6 separate regions of the Homo sapiens genome follow, and all the other regions are linked to region 2. Evidence: promoter capture Hi-C in 16 types of primary human blood cells and fetal thymus (Javierre and others, 2016). All regions are on one chromosome and are shown on one strand. Each heading gives the region's core, a stretch centred on a gene start or on the middle of the fragment in contact. The rest is flanking DNA. Distances are from core to core; before and after follow the strand shown.

Region 1 (3,246 bases), core at 649-3,148, 720 kb before region 2:
TACCTATACTGCTGGGGACAGATTTGAGGTTTGATGTTGCCCACATGCCAGGTTCTAATGGAAGATGTGCACGACTCAGGCGGCTCAGTGAGCAGTTCTCTGGTAGTAGGAGTATTCTGAGTATATAGTTGAATATCTATTTCCAGCTCTCCCCACAATTTCCAGCATGTTCTGAGTGAAATCACTTGCCCCTCCCTGTACCTCCTTTCCTTCCTGTGCAGTAGGGACCTGTCTGATCGTCATCTGCTAATGTTTATGAAGCTCCGTCAGACCTTTGTCTGGAAGACTCTGTTAACAGTAATGCATGCTTGGTTTATGAGACGGTTACAAGAGAATGGAGGTGGAGGCAGGGTGCCAAACATGGCCAGTACTTTTATCTTTGACATTACAAAGAGGTCCTCTGGCTGAGAGCCAGCCTGGAGTTTACTGGAATCAAAAATGCAGACATGTGCTTTCTGTTGGCGTGCCAGGAAGCGGCTCGCCGTGCCGTCAGCCAGCACTTCACTTCCATGGCTGCAGAGCTGCTTGCAGGAGCGTCTAAGTCCTGGTGATTTTGTGTAGTCTGTCTCATGGATACGAGGTGAGGCACAAAAGAGCTGTACCATGGAATCTGGTCACCCCTCTCTCCTCCCAAACTTTACAAAGTAGTGTTCTCCTCACCAGACCTTTAGGCCAAGTGACTGCCCTCTGGGGTGACCCACCCTCCAGCTTCAAGGGACAGATCTCTGTATGGATTGATTCACAGACTACAGACTTTTCTTTTTTTGTTTTAGAATAATTGGAGGAACACTGGCTTTTTTTCCAGTGAGATACAAAATACAATTCTAGAATTTTTTTTTAAAGGCTGAGAGATTAAAGTAATTTCTTTCCCTCGAACAGCGACATGTTTCTTTTGAACTTTTGGCTTGTGTGACACATGGTCTAAGGATTTCAGTGCTGCCTTATGAAGTGTTTGTAGAACGGGATAATTTCTGCAGCCCAACTCTGAAGACTTAGGGGACGCTATGGAACCCTCCATTAACTGATGTTAAGAGAGAGGTTCTAATGTCAAAATAAATCATTTCTTTAGATGACCCGTAAGATTGCCTCCTAAAAAGCTATGTCTAGACTTGTGTCTCAGGGACTTGTTATGTGAAGCTGTCATTGTGGACCCCAGCTAAACTATTCCTTTAATTCAGAACCACAGATTAGATAATCTGATGTGCTCGCTTTAGCAGATAAGCAAATACCATGTTTACCCAAGCTTGGAATATTGCCTGTTATAATCATTATACATACAAATGTTAGAGGGAATGTGTGAATTAAATAACCATTGTCAAATTCTTGGTTTGGCAGAAGGTAGTACCATGTTGAGTGTTGTCTTCAGTCCTGTAGACTCTCTGTGCTATGGCTGGGGTTGTTTATACTTGAGAAAACTCAGTTTAAAATAGAATGAAGGAGGGACAAATCAGAACAAAGGCATTTACAATTTGTTGCACAATCACAAACCCCAGCAACCTTCCTATCAGAATTTCAGGTCTGTTTTCATGGACAACATATACTTTACACATAGGCGACTAATGGAGTGGAAGGATTAGTTTCCATGTCAGTGGTAACCCTAATGTAGTTCTCACCTGGGCAAGCGGAGCCAGGAGGCACTGTTAGACTCTAGGCCTCACAGCTGGCCAGTGGCAGAGCTGGTACCAGGGCCCGGCCTCCTTAGTTCCACTTCCGTAGTGCTGCCTGTCACACAGTCTTACATGCCAACAGCACAGAACCCAAATCAAGCTATCATTCATCCCATGTCTGAATGTCTCTGGAGTGGCCACATCTAGGTTATCCTATAACCTTCGCCTTCGGGACACTGCCCTTTAAACCTCACTTGAATCTGTTCTGCGGCAGCTTAAAGCATTTTTATCTCTGTTGGCAGAGGAGAATGAGAGCATCTGTCCTCAAAGAAGAAAATACAAAAGATGGAGATGTGGCCGATTAAAGGAGATGAGGGCTGCAGCTTTGGTCTTCATTAAGACAAAACTCACCCTGAACTTTGGAGGTGTACTTTATCTTAATGGCTATTGTCAGGAGAACAATTTTCCTGTAAAATCTTTGCATTTTTCCCAGAATCTCAAACCTCCCACCTGGTAGCGTTTACACAACAGTATTGGCAGGACTTGGGTAGGAGTTGTGAGTATGGGCTTACAGCAGCCTAAGCCATCCATTTGGTAGTCTCTCTACAGATGTGAAAAGAATTTGTCTGAATGTGCATTTGCAAGTGGAGCTCATAGCCCTCTGTGTCATCTAATCCCCATTATATGTTATTACATCAGGAACATACCTTTCCAGTATGGGGGGAGGGTGCAAGCAAGTGTCTCCTTCCTAAATGTATTCATGTGTGTTTAACTGCCTTGTATATCAGCCCATCATGCTAGTTTTCTACAAAATGCTTTTCTACAGAAGGCTCATTTTTAGCAAGCACCACTGACAAGAGGTAGGCTCTCAAACTGCCCTCAACGTGTAGATGCTGTTTTTATTCTCTCCAGGTTGACTTGATTTTATATAAGCAAATAAGCTTATTTCTCTGAGAAGCAGTTTTATTCACTGGGATGGGAACAACCCCACACAGAGGGAGGGGAGGTGTTGAGGCTGTAGCCGGAAAAGGCCTTTGGTGGTTCTAGAAGTTCTGACTTCATACCTTCAAGGCTGTGCTCCGTTTCCCAGAAGCTATGAAGGGAATATCCCCTTCCTTCTGGCAATTCTGTGTAGCTGGAGATTGAACCTTGAAATCGCAGTTGGTTTGAATGTGTGGTTTGTGGAAATTTGTAGTTGCAGGAGAGCCCTGTTTCTGCCTGAGATCTAAAGCTAAATGGGCATTTGGCAAATGCTGGCAGCGACGGTGGGAATGTAAAGTGAAATGGAACAGAGCTGCCAGTGGCTTCAGCTGTTTGATGACTTCTTCTCCTCACCACGAGCATTTTTGTTTGGATTGGGCTCACAGCCCCTGGTTGCCCAAGTGCTCCTCAGTTGGATCCAAGGGAGTGACGGGGCTGCCCGACGGGAGAAGGCTCTCTCATCTGAGAAGAGGACATCCATCCTGGGGTCGGCCAGCTCAGGGAGGCCGGTGAAGGAGAAGGCGGCAGGAACTCTGGGCTCTCTCATCTGAGAAGAGGACATCCATCCTGGGGTCGGCCAGCTCAGGAGATGGGTGAAGCAGCAGGAGGCGGGAACTTTGGGCTCTTGCGAGGATGCAAGCAGCTGCTTGGACTCACA
Region 2 (3,174 bases), core at 187-2,686:
TCCCCGAGGAGCCGAGCGCTGAGCCCGCGCCCTCAGGAGTGGGCCGGCTGCCGGCGCGCGACTCCTCGTATGCTTTCCGGTACCAGCTTTCCGGGGAGAAGGGCGCTGCGGGCTTGGTGGGCGAGCAGACTTCATTCACCTGCGGGGAAGACACGCCGGTGTCAGGGGCTGCAAGGCGGCGGGCTGCAGCGCCCAGGAGCTGGGTCATACGTGCGCCACCAAGTACCCGCTCGAACCGCCCACGGGAGTCGGTTGGGGACCTCTCCAAGCCCTGCGGCCAAATTGCCCTCCGTCTGTCTCGTTAATTGTCCTTAAGTGAGTCCCCACCGCCCAGGTGACCCCTGCGCTGGTCCCCGGTGGCCTCCTCCTGGGGTCAGGAAGGGGACTCGCTCGGGGCCGTTTCCACGGCTTCTGCAAGGCGGGGGGGATCCATAGGTTCAGCGCCCCACGCTTTTGAAGCCGGCACCTATCCCAGCAAGATCCCGGGAACAAAATCCTGGAAGACCCTATGGGGGGGGTAGGGGGAGGGCTGTGATTTCAGGATTTTTATTCATACGGGGTCCAACTCTCCGGATCCTGCAGGTAAACGAGAGGCTCTCACGGCTCCAGCTAAACGATCCGAGGTACTGCCCAGCATTCATGGGAAACCCTCCCCTTCGGCTTCACTCTGCCTAGAAGTGCAGGAATGCGGCAAAAGTTACGGGTGCGTGGAAAGGAAGGAACGAGAGGGCTGAAAAAATTCCGAGAGCGAGGCGAGCGTGCGGGCGTCCCCGCGGCCGACCCGCCTCCGCGCACTCACAACCCCGCCAGCCCCGGGGGCGCCTCTGCAGCGGGGGAGAGCTCGGGGCCGGGGCCGCACGATCCCGGGGAAAGGGGGACCTCCGCCGAGATGGGTCTGGTAACGCGTCTCCGCGTCGTACCGTCACAACTTACCCCGTATTTCTTGCCCCTGGTGGAGACCGCAAGCCTCTCTTTATTCCCAGCTACCGAATTCATGGTGGCTTTTCCAGAGGAGAGTATCTAAAGGTTCCACCGACGCTACATCCAGAAGGTCCTCCAACCCAGAAGCGTCCCCCGGCTGCAGGGGGCTGGCTCTCAGCCCTCAGGGCAAGGTTTCTTCAGCGGTGGGGTGGGAGGGAATGAAAGCAAATGGATCCCACAAGTAATAGCACCAATTTGCAGAAAGGGTTGGGGTCGCTGGTTTATTCTTCTCTTCAAAGCATGCTTTTCCTCGTCCCCTTCTGCCTCTTCCAGCCGCACGTCCTCTTGTCACGGCCACATCCACAGAACTGGCATTTTCTTCAGCCAAGTCAGTCCGTGCTCCCCCACGAGGAAAGCGAGGGATACAATCAGGGCTCGCGGCCGCTGCCGGGAAGGTGGGAGAGCCGAGCCGAGTCAGCTGTGGGAACTTGTCTCCTTCACCGAGCTTGGTAACTGAGTTCAAAGAAATTCTCCCAAAATATAAAGATCCAGACTCGGGGAGGAGCCTCGGCGTGTCGCCGAGCCAATATCCGCCGGCCCGTTTCGCCTGACAGTTGCGCGAGGGCCGGGAGAGGGGCGGCTCCGCGTGGCCCGGGAGCGGTCGGCGGTCACAGCGCGCGTGTGCGCCCGGGCGCAGCGCGGAGGAGCCTCGGGAACCTGCCGCCCTCGCCGCGCCGGCCGGGATCCATTTTATGTGGCGGCGCTCGTGCCTGACATTGCGAGGCCTGGAGCCGGGCTGGGGCTGGGGGCGGGGGATCGTCGATCTCGCCGCGTGCGGGGAAGTTCCTGGCGCGCGGCCCGGGCCCGGGGCTCTAATGAAACGCCGCTGCGCGAGCCTGGAGCCCGGGGGCCGCGCGAGCGAGCGTGGCTGGACGGAAATGCGGTGCCCCAGCCTCCCCCGCCCCCAAGTTCTTTCTCTTCCTGACAAGGCTTGCAGGTCTGTCTGTGAAACGCCGTGCAAAAGGGATTGAGTCACAAACAAGTCCACAAACATGCCGGGTCCTCCCCCCGCCCTTTGTTCTCGGAGAGCTGCCGGGCAAACCTTTTCTGGAATTGCCCTACCGACCCCGGGCCGGCCGGGGGGCCACCCTCCCCGACCGCAGCCGCAGGACTAGGGCCCTTGGTCCCCCGCCCGCCCGAGCCCCGGTCTGTGATGGACTAAGCCGCCCGGGGCTGGGACAGGTGAGCCTGGTGACCCAGCGGGCCGCTGCCGGGCAGGGGAAACTGAGGGCTTCGCCGCGCTGCACGCGGACGACTCTGGCCTGGAGAGGGGGTGTGGCGCGAGCTGGCCTTGGCCTCTCCTTGCGTGGGATCGGGCCCCTCGCCCCCCGCCGCCCGTTTCTTCCTGCGCCTGGGCCCCGCGGGGTCTCCGGAGCACCCCGTCATCGCTCCCTCTCCGATCGCCCCCCGCCCCAGTCCCCCGGCGCAGCGCCCAGGAGCGCAGGAAGCCGGCGTATGCCAGGCTCCACACGTGGCTGCTCTGGGGTGTCATTTTTCATTTCACGGGAGGACATTTCTTCTGGTGAGCCAGCAGGTCTGTTTTGTTGTGACCTTTAATTAACACCCCGCGAGACGCCTCTGGAAGGACTGGCCGGGCGCAGGGATCACGTGGGGTGTAACGGCATCTCCGCGCCCGCGGGGAGACCCAGCCCGGGGGTGGGCGAGGGCGCGAAGGACGTTCAGGGCTTTCTGGTCGCTGACTTCCTTCTGAGCTGTGGACGACGCAGGAGGGGGCAAGAAGACAAAGGTTCGGGGTTCTGGAAGCCTGGGGCCACGCCCCCACTCTGCCTTCCTCGGGGACAATTTCTTCTGTGCCTCCCGTGCTCTGCCCCACTCCTCCCCGCTCCAGCTCCTGCGCGGGAATATTTCACAGCCACCAAAGCGAGGTAAAAAGGTCAAAAGGAAGATGGCAAGAACAGAGTGGACGTTTCCGTTACGTTCCCACTTCCAATTTAAAAGCGATCCTATCAATAGGGGACCTTAGGGGGCAGGTACACCTCCAGGCAGCACGCGCCAGCTCCCACCCGCATCTGTATTTCGCGTAGGTGCCGCGAAACACATCATCGCCATTGGCCACGAGCCGCTTATCAGCCAAAAAGCAGCGTGTGGTGAAACGAGCCGGCGAGGCCGCGGGTGGGGAAGGTGGGGTGTCGAGGGGGAGTGTTGGGGAGCTGCGCGATCCACCTCGGAGAC
Region 3 (3,245 bases), core at 652-3,151, 740 kb before region 2:
GGTCTTAATTTTCTCTTTTGTAAAATGAGAATACTCTAAACCTGGCAAAGCTACTTTAAGGGTTCAATTAGATAATTAGATAATATATGTATAGATTGGGAGATGGTAGATGCTTGGTAATGGTAGCCATTATTATTATTGAATGATCTGGGGAAATAGTCTATTTGGGAGGTTCCAAGAAATACAGCATCCTCAGTTCCCATCATTTGCTGATCAGAGTCTCTGAATTGTTCACATAATTTTCTTAACAGTTTTTTAACTCCTCCTGTTCCAATTTTTAGTTGTCTCTGCTTTCTTCCCCCTTTTTTTGTGCCTAGTGCCTCTTGTTTGGTTTGGTTCCAGTGGTCACTGTGCTGGGGTGGTTGGTGTTTTTCTTTCTTTCTTTTTTCTGTTTTGAGACAGGGCGTCACTCTTTCGCCCAGGCTGAAGTGCAGTGGTGTGTTCATGGCTCACTCCTGGGCTCAGGCAATCCTCCCATGTCAGCCTCCTCAGTAGCTGGGGCTACAGGCGTGTGCCACCATGCCCTGCTAATTTTTAAAAATATTTTTGTAGAGATGGAGTCTCACTGTATTGCCCAGGCTAGTCTTCAGCTTCTGGGATCAAGCAGTCCTCCTGCCTCTGCCTCCCAAACTGTTGGGATTACAGGTGTGAGCCACCATGCTCAGCTCAGCTTGTTTTTCATTCTTGTATTCTTCCTGGCTTGCTCCCCTGCACTTCCTAACCTGGGCTCTCCTTCCAGAAGTAAGCTGACCTTTGTCCAGACTTAGGGGGCATATCACTGTCCTTCATCACTACTCGTGCTGTCCTCTTCACCCCTACAGTTCCCGACATTGCTGTCACTGAGGGGGTGTACATAGCAGAAGGAAGGGAAGTACAGCTGAGTAAGAAGACAGCATGAGTGGCACTGCACAGAGTCACATCCAGGTCATTGCTCCCCTCCCCCCAGATTCCTGGACAAAGTGGATGTCATCCTGGGCTGTCTCTGCAGTTTATTTCCCAAGAGACCAATCCTCTTTTGTAAACATTATTTATTTTTGTATTTTTAAATTTTGAATGTTTATGGCTACAGAGTAGGCGTGTATATTTATGGGTACATGAGATAAATATTTTGATACTGTCATACAATGTGTAATAATCATGTTAGGATAAATGGGGTATCCATTGCCTCAAGCATTTATCATTTCTTTTGTGGTACAAATATTCCAATTATATTTCTTCAGTAATTTTTAAATGTACAGTAAATTATTGTAGACTCTGGTCACCCTGTTGTATCAAATAGTAGATGTTATTCATTCTATCTGATTATATTTTTGTACCCATTAACCATCCCCCGTTCCCTCCCTTGCCCACTACCTTCCCAGGCTCTGGTAACCATCATTCTACTCTCTATCTCCATGAGTTAAATTCTTTTAATTTTTAGCTCCTACAAATTAGTGAGAACATGTGAAGTTGGTCTTTCTGTGTCTGGCTAGTTTAATTGAACACAATGTCCTCCCATTCCATCCTTGCTGTTGCAAGTGATAGGATCTCATTCTTGTTTATGGCTGACTAGTACTCCATTGTGTATATGTACCATGTTTTCTTTATTCATCTATCAACAGACACTCAGGTTGCTTCCAAAGCTTAGCTATTGTGAATAGTAGTGCAATAAACATGGGCGTGCAGATACCTCTTCGATATACTGATTTCCTTTCATTTGCGTATATACCTACCAGTGAGATTGCTGGATCAATGGTAGTTCTATTTTAGTTTTTCGAGGACCCTTCATACAGTTTTCCATAGTAGATGTACTAATTTACATTCCCAACAATAGTGTGCGAGGGTTCCCTTTTTTTCCACATCTTTGTCAGCATATGTTACTCCCTATCTTTTGGATCAAAGCCATTTTAACTGTGGTGAGATGATATCTCATTGTAGTTTTGATTTGCATTTCTTTGATGATGCGGGATGTTCTTATACCTGTTCACCATTTGTATGTCGTCTTTTGAGAAATGTTTATTTAGATCTTTTGCCCAGATTGTTAGATTGTTAGATTTTTTTCCTTATTCAGTTGTTTGAAGTCCTTATATATATCCTAGTTATTGATTCCTTGTCAGATGGGTAGTTTGCAGATATTTTCACCCATTCTGTGGGTTGTCTCTTTACTTTGTTCATTGTTTTCTTTGCTGTGTAGAAGCTTTTAACTTGATGTGATCCCATTTGTCCATTTTTGTTTTGGTTGCCTGTGCTTTTGGGATGTTACTCAAGAAATCTTTGCCCACACCAATGTCCTGGAGAGTTTCCCCAGTGTTTTCTTTTAGTAGTTTCGTAGTTTGAGGGTCTTAAATTTAAGTCGTTAATCCATCTTGGTTAATTGTTTTATATAGTGAGAGATAGAAATCTAGTTTCATTCTTCTGCACATCCAGTTTTCCCGGCACCATTTATTGAAGACTATCCTTCCCCCAGTGTATGTTCTTGGCACCTTTGTCAAAAATGAGTTCACTGCAGATGTATGGATTTAATTCTGGATTCTCTATTTCTTTCCATTGGTCTGTGTGTCTGTTTTTATGCCAGTACCATGCTGTTTTGGTTACTATAGCTCTGTAGTATAATTTGAAGTCAGGTAATGTGATTCCTTCAGTTTTGTTCTTTTTGCTCAGAATGGCTTTGGCTATTCTGGACCTTTTGTGGTTCCATATAAATTTGGGGATTAGTTTTTCTGTTTCTGTGAAGAATGTCATTGGTATTTTGAGAGGGATTGCATTGATGCCTCTTTCAGAATTTGCCATGTAAGAATTATTGTTCTTTTCTGAGTAAGACCACATTTGGAATCTCACAATGAAACAAATAATAAAATGCCTTGGGACAGAGACCAGACAAGGCTTCTATTGACATTTATTCCTTCATTACAGTAGGTGTTGGAGGTCACCCACACTTTGACCCTAAGTCTGAAAACAGACCTCTTCAGTGGTCACAGAAACTTCAGGGCTGCAGGGTTGGTGGAGAGTAGCTCACTCTGCAGTGGGTGTGGGCAGCTGTGGGCTCTGATTAAAACATGTAGTTGGCCCCTCCAGTGTCAATGGGAAGGATGTCCTAGAAGGAGAAAAAGGTATTCTAGTCACTTCTGTTATCTCACTCTCTATAGAAATTAAGAGAACATGGTGCCATGCAAAAATAACCTATTTATTTTTCTCAAAAAGTACATTTTCCCCTTATCTGTTAATCGGGCTCAACAGTGAACTTGAAGGCTTATGCTTTTGGTCCA
Region 4 (3,008 bases), core at 375-2,874, 940 kb before region 2:
ATAGTTGAAAACTATTGTAGGTCTCTAGCATTATTTAAAGATGGAGACTGGTTAGAAGAGGTTGGCTGGAAAAGGGTGGGAGAAAAGCAAAATAGGAAATGTTTTGTTCCTTTTATGACCAAAAATTCTACTATTCCCAGAGATAGCCTAGAAGTAGTTTGGCAAATGACATTTTAGTTATTTTTGGAGCTGCTTTTCAATATTTTAACATGTGTTTATGTGTAAGCCTGAAAGGATTACAAATGTGTGTGTGTGAGTGTATATACATGTACATATAACTACACATATCTTTCTTTATATAATAATTATGTTTTTGAAAAGTTGAGTATAATAAAATACTTACAATCTAAATACCATTTTAATAGGACAAGGGAAGCTGACTTTCTAAATACAATGTCACATTCTAAGTGATGAACATAATTTTGTTAATGTAAAATTTAGAACAGTATAGATAAAGTGTGTCACTCAGCCTCAAAAAAGTTCTAAGATTTTGTCATCTTCATACATTTATTTTGTAAATGAAATAAAATATTCCAGGGAAATTTGAAAAAAGATTTTTTAAAAATTAAATAATAGCTCCTTGTTTATTGGCTTTAAATATTTAAACATTCAAATTGTAGCCTTTTTCTAAATGCACAAAATACAAAATATTTTCTCCTAAAGTCCATGAATGGTGCCTTTTGGCCTCTCTGAACCCTCTTCACACAGCAGGATTTCGAACGTGTGCTGGACACCAGGAAACTCATGTCATTCCCGCAGGGCTTTGGATTTAGGACTTTCTTAGATTGACAGGGACCGAATATTTGAAATAAACTATTGACATGCAAGAGGCAGATTAATGTGAAGGTTAGTAGTTTTGGAGCTAATTCCATCATCTTTCTTGTTCTTGATTTGCATGTGTGCATTGAATTATGTTGTCTTTTTGGGTGCGGGTATAGATATAGTTTTACCCAATTGATCATTAACTTTTTTGAGGGCATCTATTTGTATCTTGTTTATCTTGATGGAAATAAAATATAAAAATCAGTTTAGTGGTAATTTTTAAATAATTAGACACAGGAAGGAAGAACAGGGTTGCAACAAAAACACTACGACAAAACTAAGGATGGTGGAAAAGCAAGAAGGTAAATTTAATGTAGACGGGTGTCTGTAAAATATAATTGAAACTAAACTTCTGACACCACATAATTTTAATCACAGAAATATACTTGGGAAGGAAATAAATTCTCAAAGAAAACCAACTAGATTTAAGATTGTCACTAAGGAAGGCTGATGCAGGTGCCACACAAAGTGATTTAGGTCTAGGGCCCCGGACACTCCTCTACATCATATTGATATGATAGGTAGCAGGTAGATATCCAAGTCTGAGTTGGTCACGAAGCAGAAGGTATTGTGTGACTTCTCAGGCAGTGGTACAGCCCTCTCGGTGAAAGTACTGGTTGGAAACTGGGGTGGGATTGTGGGGGTTGGAAATTAAAGGTTGGAACAAAGGAATGAGAGGTTTTGGACAGGTCTATCTGAGAACTCTGGAGTACTACAGAGCTTTTGCTTTTCCAGCTAACTCTGACCAAGCCAATATAGTTCGTATACGCATATTGGCAACCACTGGTGACCTTTATTACATGGAAAACATTTTGGCCTGGGAAAGATGGGTAGGCTCTCTCTCCTGGAACCTTGTCTGAGCTGGAACCATCTCGGCATCCTGCTGCTTGCCACATACTTCTGACTTTGCTATCCCTTCAGACGGTTGAATTCACCCAGAGTGAGGCATAGAACAGGGAATCAGCATAGTTTGTAACCCCCTCCCTATTTATTGTTTTCTTAATGTGTGCCAAGCACTGACCTCCTCAGGCTTGGTGCAAGTTAAGGAAACAATAAATGTAAAGGGAATGGATTGCTGTGAAGTCTGTTCCTGGGGAGAAAACATGAGATCAGAATGACGTTTCTTTGTCTGAACAACTATATTTTTCACGTGTTTTGTGCATTTTCCAAATATTTAAGAATCCAAGAAATACTTTGTAATGAAAGAATTTTTAATGACCCTATGCAGAAACTGTAAATTGCATGTCTATGTTGTGAGTTTCTTACTGGATTATAGATTACTGGATTATGTAGGAGAAAATGGAATGAGCACCTACAAATCAACAACTTGGATAAATAATATCTAGAAACTAGCAGGGACTCATCATTTCATTGTCTTTGGTAAGATGGACAGATCATTTGGTGGTTGTTGCACATGTCTTTTCCCATAAACTGTACTTGTTGTCACGTAACTGGAATTAGAGTTACAATGATAACCATTTGTTACAATGATAAACATTTGTTACAATCATAACCATTTGCAAGAACCGTGAATCCTTTTATTCAACAAAAGTTAGTTCTGGTATCTTTTTCATATACATTGCCTGAGGCTCAGAATTGCAATGTATTCTAGTTAGGTCTTTGTGTTTAGGCTCCCAAGTACCCGTATTAATCAGAACATCTAAAAAGCATTCCCATAAGTACAATGGACTGAGATTGCCAGGTGTCTGATGTAGTGCAAAGATTATTGCTGTTTAAAAGATTTTGACCTCAGAGCTTCATTCTTCCCATCGTCATAATTTTCTGAGCGCTGAGGCATTGCAGATCTTGTCTTTCTGTTTATTCAGCTATACTTTTTGCCAGCAAAGAGGCCTGAACAAGTAGGTAATGAGACTGTCTACACAGAGGTTCTGCGAGCCCACAGCTGCCCACTGGCAAGACCCGTTTAGGATTAATATTTCAGATCATCTATTCTGCTTGCTCTGAGATTGATGCGCAAGACACAAAGCAACCTCTAGACACTTCAGCTAAGAATAGGTATTAAGCGTGAATGCATTTGCATATTTGGTGGCAACCTATTCTACATTCTTCCTTAACATTTTTTTCTTGTTTATTAAACAGAGGATGCTTTTGCTTACCTCTCAACTGCAGAAAAGGTACTGTTTGATATATATCGGTTTTATTTACTCTGTTCTCACAGAATTGCA
Region 5 (2,965 bases), core at 268-2,767, 870 kb before region 2:
CCCTTTTCTCTGCATTTTCACCAGCATGTTATCTTTTCTTTTTTTGATAACAGCCATCCTAACTGTGGTAAGATGATATTTCATTGTGGTTTTGATTCGTATTTCCCTGGTGATTAGTGATGTTGAACATTTTTTCATATATTTGCTGGCCATTTGCATATTTTCTTTTTCTTTTTCTTTCTTTTTTTTTTTTTTTTTCTGAGACAGAGTCTCACTCTGTCAGCCAGGCTGGAGTGCAGTGGTAGGATCTTGGCTCACTGCAACCTCTGTCTCCCGGGCTCAAGCAATTCTCCTGCTTCAGCCTCCTGGGTAGCTGGGATTACAGGCGTGTGTCACCACGCCTGGCTAATTTTTTGTATTTTTAGTAGAGATGGGGTTTCACCATTTTGGCCAGGCTGGTCTGAACTCCTGACCTCAGGTGATCTGCCCGCCTCTGTCTCCCAAGGTGCTGGGATTACAGGCATGAGCCACCGTGCCTGGCCTGCATATTTTCTTTTGAGACATTTCTATTCATATCATTTGCCCACTTTTTAACTGGATTATATTTTGGATATTAATTCCTTGCTGAACATGTAATTTGCAAATATTTATTGCTACAGATTGTCTCTTCAGTCTCTTGATTGTTTTCTTTGCTGTACAGAAACCTTTTAGTTTAATATAGTGCCATTTGTCTATTTTTGTTGGCTGTACTTTTGAGGTCTTAGCCATAAAATATTTGCCTAGACCAATGTCCTGAAGTGTTTTCTTCTAGTAGTTTTATAGTTTTGGGTCCTATGTTCAAATCTTTAATTCATTTTGAGTTTACTTTTGTATACAGTGATAATGGTCTCCTTTCACTCTTCTGCTTTGGATATGGAATCTTCCCAACACCATTTATTGAACAGGGTGTCTTTTCCTCAGTCTGTTTTCTTGACACATTTTACAATTGGTTGGCTGTAAATATGTGAATTTATCTCTAGGTTCTCTATTCTATGCTAATGGTTTGTGTGTTTGTTTTTATACCAGTACCATATGGTTTTGGTTCCTATAGCTTTGTAGCATATTTTGAAGTCAGGTAGTGTGATACTTCCTGTTTTGTTATTTTTGCTCATTATTGCTTTGGCTATTCATGGTCTTTTGTGTTTCCATACAAATTTTAGGATTTAAAAAAATATTTCTGTGAAACATGTGGTTTGGTATTTTGACAGGTATTACATTACATCTGTAGATTGCTTTGGGTAGCATGGTCATCTTAACAATATTAATTCTTCCAATTTATAAGCATGGGACATCTCCATTTGTTTGTATTCTCTTCAGTTTCTACCATCAGTGTTTCATAGTTGTCCTTCTAGAGTTCTCTCTCCTCCTTCAATAAATTTATTGTTAGATACTTTATTTATGTTTTTGTAGCTGTTGTAAGTGGAATTGCTTTTCTAATTTCTTTTTTCACTACTTCGTTATTGATGTATAGTTTTGTATATTGATTTTGTATCTTGCAACTTTACTGAATTCATTTATCAGTTCAAAGAGTTTTTTGGTGGAGTCTTTAGATTTTTCTGTATATAGGATTATGTCATTCACAAAGAGGGACAATTTGACTTCCTTTTTTCCAATTTGGATGCCCTTTGTTTCTTTCTCTTGCCTGGTTGCTCTGACTAGGACTTCCACTACTCATTATTGATTTTTTCAGGTTTTCTCCTTCTTCCTAATTCAATTTTGGTAGGTTGTGTATGTCTAGGATTTATTTCCTTTAGGTTTTTCAGTTTGTCAGCATTGTCAAGATTGTTGTTCGTAACAGTCTCTAATGATCCTTTGTATTTCTGTGGTATCAGTTGTAATGCCTTGTTTTTCATTTCTGATTACTTTCTTCACTGAAGATTTGACCCCCTCAAAGTCATCCATGAGGATTGGAATCAACCTTCCAAACTCTTGTTAATGTTGATATTTTGATCTCCTTCTATGAAGTATGAGTGTTCCTAATGGTGTCTGGAATAGTGAATCCTTTCCAGAAGGTTTTCAATTTACTGTCCCCAGATCCATCAGAAGAATCAATATTGATGGCAGCTATAGCCTTACAAAATGTATTTCTTAAATAATAAGACTTGAAAGTTGAATTACTCCTTGATCCATGGGCTGAAGACTAGATTTTGTGTTAGTAGGCAAGAAAACAGCATTCGTCTTCTTGTACATCTCCATCGGAGCTCTTGGATGACTAGGTGCGTTGTCAATCAACAGTAATGTTTTCAAAGCAATCTTATTCCTGAGCAGTAGGTCACAAGAATGGACTTCAGATATTCAGTAAACTATGCTTAAAAACAGATATGCTGTCACCCAGGCTTTGTTATTACATTGGTAGAACATGGGCAGTACAGATTTACCACAGTTCTTAAGGGCTGTAGGATTTTTTAAATGGTAAATGAACATTTGCTTCAACTTAAAGTCACCAGCTGGCATTAGACCCTAACAAGAGAGTCATTCTGTCTTTTGAAGTTTTGAAGCAAAGCATTGACCTCTCCTCTAGTTATGGAAGTCTTAGATGGTATCTCATCCCAATATAAGGCGGTTTCATCTACACTGAAAGTCTGCTTTTCCTTGTTGCCACCCTCATCAGTCATCTCAGCTAGATCTTCTTGATAACTTGCTGCAACGTCACCTTGCAGTTTTAAGTTACGGAGATGGCTTCTTTCCTTAAACCTCATGAACCAACCTCTGCTACTTTCCACCGTTTCTTCTGTCGTTTCTCACCTCTCTCAGCCTTTATAGAATTTAAGCAAGTTAGGGCTTTCCTCTGGATTAGGCTTTGGCTTAAGGGAATATTGTGGCTTATTTGATCTTCTGTCCAGATCACTCAGACTTTCTCCCTATCAGCAATAAGGCTGTCTCACTTTCTGATTATTTGTGTGTTCACTGGAGTAGCACTTTTAATTTCCCTCAAGAGTGTTTCTTTTGCATTTACAAGTTGGCTAACTGTTTTGTGCAACACATG
Region 6 (3,011 bases), core at 67-2,566, 640 kb before region 2:
AAATAAAATTCCCTAGAACACATAAGAAGCAGACCACAAGCAATGAGCCTCGCTGGTGTCTTGATCCACCTTTTTTTTTTTTTTTTTTTTGGAACCCGGAAGCAATTGAGAGGACATGTCTTGGCATAGCTTTGAAAACCGGCCAGTAGGGGGCGTCTGCAGTGGACCTGAAATCTCCTTAGAGTTGGCCGTTTCTTTTTCTTTTCTTTTCTTTTCTTTATATCTATCTATCTATCTATATATAATTATACTTTAAGTTCTAGGGTACATGTGCACAACGTGCAGGTTTGTTACATATGTATACATGTGCCATGTTGGTGTGCTGCACCCATTAACTTGTCATTTACATTAGGTATATCTCCTAATGCTATCCTACCCCCTCCCCCCACCCCACCACAGGCCCCAGTGTGTGATGTTCCCCTTCCTGTGTCCAAGCGTTCTCATTGTTCAGTTCCCACCTATCAGTGAGAACATGTGGTGTTTGGTTTTTTGTCCTTGTGATAGTTTGTTGAGAATGATGGTTTCCAGCTTCATCCATGTCCCTACAAAGGACATGAAATATCCTTTTTTGTGGCTGCATAGTATTCCATGGTGTATATATGCCACATTTTCTTAATCCAGTCTATCATTGTTGGACATTTGGGTTGGTTCCAAGTCTTTGCTATTGTGAGTACTGCTGCAATAAACATACGTGTGCATGTGTCTTTATAGCAGCATGATTGATATTCCTTTGGGTATGGACCTGAAGTAAAGCCCTGTTCAAAGGAAAACATTCACCAAATCCCCTCATATTCTGTATCTCACAATTTGGTACTTGAATAGAAAGTGCCTTGTAGTAACTATTCTTGAAAACTTTGTATTTACACTACCAAAGAAGCAATTTCCTCTATAGCCTGATTCTTGAGTACACTAACCGGTACAGATATGTCTCCTCCTGTCCTTCCAAATTCATTATTTCATAGGTGTTTTGCACCTTAAGTCATGGCCTTTCGTTTTTGACAGACTAATTGGAATTGTGATGCTTTCTGCAGAGCCAGTGGGAGAAAGAGAAAAAAATGCTGAGCCTTCCCAGCTTCAACAGGTGGTTGCAGTATGTTTGGAGCTAATAGAATGGAGCAGTGATCTAGCTGTCCTAAAAGAGCTAACTGCAGATGCGGAGACTATGGCTGTGGAGTGGAGTCTTGATGACACTCTGCTCTCCTCCACACTCACATGAGAATATGCAAGAGTTTTGTGCGTATCAAATTTCATTGATCTGGCCTCACTGATTTTGAATTTATGGTACTGTAGAGAGAGAGCTGATACTCACATTTCCAGTGTCTGTAGATGGAAAAAAATTGTTTCCTGTGAAAATCATAAATATGTAGGAAATTATAGGGGAAATGCTAGCCCATTCATGCTGCCTTTACAGCATGCTATCCCCGCTAAAAAGATAGTTGATCATAGACAGTTCTTTACTGTTCATTAAAGTAGGTCCTGGCAGGGTCTCTATTTGGCAGTGTCCTGTAAACCATTACTCTGTGCTGTTGTACAGGGTTACAAGAAATCAGTCTCCATTTTATTAAAAAAAAAATCTAGAATTCCAAATCTCCATTAATTTGGATGTTTCATCATCCCAATTCGTCCCAATAAGGTTTTATTATATTTTATTTTTGATAAAATATTGAAACAAGAGACTATTTGATTATTGGACATAATACCTTAAGTTCCAGGTAATTTCATCATCTGAGTCCTGAAAAGAAACTCAGACTTCCCAACCCAAGAAGTCTGCTGTCTTTCACATTGGGCCATACCTGTACATATCCTTGACCTTTATATTTGTAGGCAGCACCACTGTCAATGTTAGTGGTGTAGGTACATCTTACCAAAAAGAAGTGTGGCCTGTAAGCTGTGGTTTGGGCGATCTTGTGACTGTTTGCAACTTTGCTCTGAAGACAACTAACTGGATCCAATTAATAAACAATTGGGAGATAGGGTTACTAAGATAGAGTGATCAGAAAAGTGCCTTCTGAGACTGTATTTAAGCTGAAATTAAAAGGCTGAGAATAGTATTTAGGGAGAGAGACTGTATTTAAGCTGAAATTAAAAGGCCGAGAATAGTATTTAGGGAGAGAGGGGACAAGAGCGTTCAGTGCTTGGCTCTTTCTCTTCATGCATGTGTCTGGTCTTGAGGTGGGAGAAATCTTGATTGACCAGAGAACTGAAGAGATAGCAAAGGAGGTGACTGGAGCGCATGGGCCCGTGGCATGAGGTGAGGTTGTAGAGAAAGTCAGGGAACTCCTTGGTGAGCTGGCATGGTTAGATCATGCTTTAGGCCACAAGAGACAAAATATAACAATGGGAAATTAAAAAGATATAGCTAGGCTCAAAGCGAGTGAATCTGAAAAAGAAGAGAAATGCAAAGAAGTGATGGAGCTGAAGCCACTGGCTACCTGGCTCTCGGATAAAGGAGGCAAAATGGCTGGGAATTTGGCTCCTGGAATGTAACAGGGACTAGATATGTACTCTGTGAAATGGGAAGTGGAGTCAGGCTCACTACTGAAAACCGGGGATGTTGATAAATGAGAGAGGACATCCTCACTATGATGGGAGGCTGATAAAAGTAACTGCTGACCTATGCCTGGAATGATGGTCGACATGAAGCTTGTGAGTCTATGGAGGTATAAGATCCCAGACACAGGATCCTGACCAGGGCCTGAGCCAAGCCACCTGCTGGTTCAGTGACTGGATTTGCAATGTCCCTATCACTGGGGATAGGATCCTTGAGCTAGCATTTAAGATCCTGTTCAAGATGAGGGCGTAGGCACTTGTGGGGGTAGGATGCAAATGGAGACAGGGACAGAGACAGATGGGAGAGAACCTGCCACTGAAATGAACATGCACACCTAAATGCCAAAACACATAAAGAAATAGAGCATCAAAAAGAGAACCACTGAGATTCACAATCAGAAATTCACTCCATATGGAAATAAAATTATAGAATAAAAGTTTTCAATTTATTCCAAATCCTT

Evidence for each region. Contacts are between HindIII fragments. The CHiCAGO score rates a contact against its expected background, and 5 or more counts as called.
Region 1: a contact is called between a fragment that was not itself captured here and the fragment with the promoter of KIF26B in region 2, in 1 of 17 cell types (endothelial precursors). The highest score is 6.0, in endothelial precursors.
Region 3: a contact is called between a fragment that was not itself captured here and the fragment with the promoter of KIF26B in region 2, in 6 of 17 cell types (endothelial precursors, total CD8 T cells, naive CD4 T cells and 3 more). The highest score is 9.0, in endothelial precursors.
Region 4: a fragment that was not itself captured here is called in contact with the fragment with the promoter of KIF26B in region 2 in 1 of 17 cell types (naive B cells); the score reaches 5.2 in naive B cells.
Region 5: a contact is called between a fragment that was not itself captured here and the fragment with the promoter of KIF26B in region 2, in 3 of 17 cell types (naive B cells, total B cells and total CD4 T cells). The highest score is 6.1, in naive B cells.
Region 6: a contact is called between a fragment that was not itself captured here and the fragment with the promoter of KIF26B in region 2, in 1 of 17 cell types (M2 macrophages). The highest score is 5.9, in M2 macrophages.

The regions. Positions count from the first base shown.
Region 1 is chr1:245,872,300-245,875,545 of GRCh38, reverse strand. The region is part of intron 8 of SMYD3 (SET and MYND domain containing 3); the gene reads left to right. Among named protein-coding and RNA genes, the nearest start is that of SMYD3-AS1, 230 kb to the left of the region's middle. The HindIII fragment of the contact is 1,305 bases long and covers 1,246-2,550 here.
Region 2 is chr1:245,153,247-245,156,420 of GRCh38, reverse strand. KIF26B (kinesin family member 26B) reads right to left here and starts at 1,436. Exons shown (of 15, transcript NM_018012.4): 1 at 934-1,436; 2 at 1-139. The coding sequence starts at 996. RefSeq lists silencers at 1-27, 1,895-2,094 and enhancers at 1,949-2,624, 2,625-3,174. The HindIII fragment of the contact is 4,692 bases long and covers 1-3,174 here.
Region 3 is chr1:245,889,183-245,892,427 of GRCh38, reverse strand. All of the region lies in intron 8 of SMYD3 (SET and MYND domain containing 3), which reads left to right. Among named protein-coding and RNA genes, the nearest start is that of SMYD3-AS1, 220 kb to the left of the region's middle. The HindIII fragment of the contact is 554 bases long and covers 1,625-2,178 here.
Region 4 is chr1:246,096,074-246,099,081 of GRCh38, reverse strand. The region is part of intron 5 of SMYD3 (SET and MYND domain containing 3); the gene reads left to right. Among named protein-coding and RNA genes, the nearest start is that of SMYD3-AS1, 11 kb to the left of the region's middle. The HindIII fragment of the contact is 3,993 bases long and covers 1-3,008 here.
Region 5 is chr1:246,026,907-246,029,871 of GRCh38, reverse strand. The region is part of intron 5 of SMYD3 (SET and MYND domain containing 3); the gene reads left to right. Among named protein-coding and RNA genes, the nearest start is that of SMYD3-AS1, 80 kb to the left of the region's middle. The HindIII fragment of the contact is 5,377 bases long and covers 1-2,965 here.
Region 6 is chr1:245,794,908-245,797,918 of GRCh38, reverse strand. The region is part of intron 10 of SMYD3 (SET and MYND domain containing 3); the gene reads left to right. Among named protein-coding and RNA genes, the nearest start is that of SMYD3-AS1, 310 kb to the left of the region's middle. The HindIII fragment of the contact is 2,658 bases long and covers 1-2,645 here.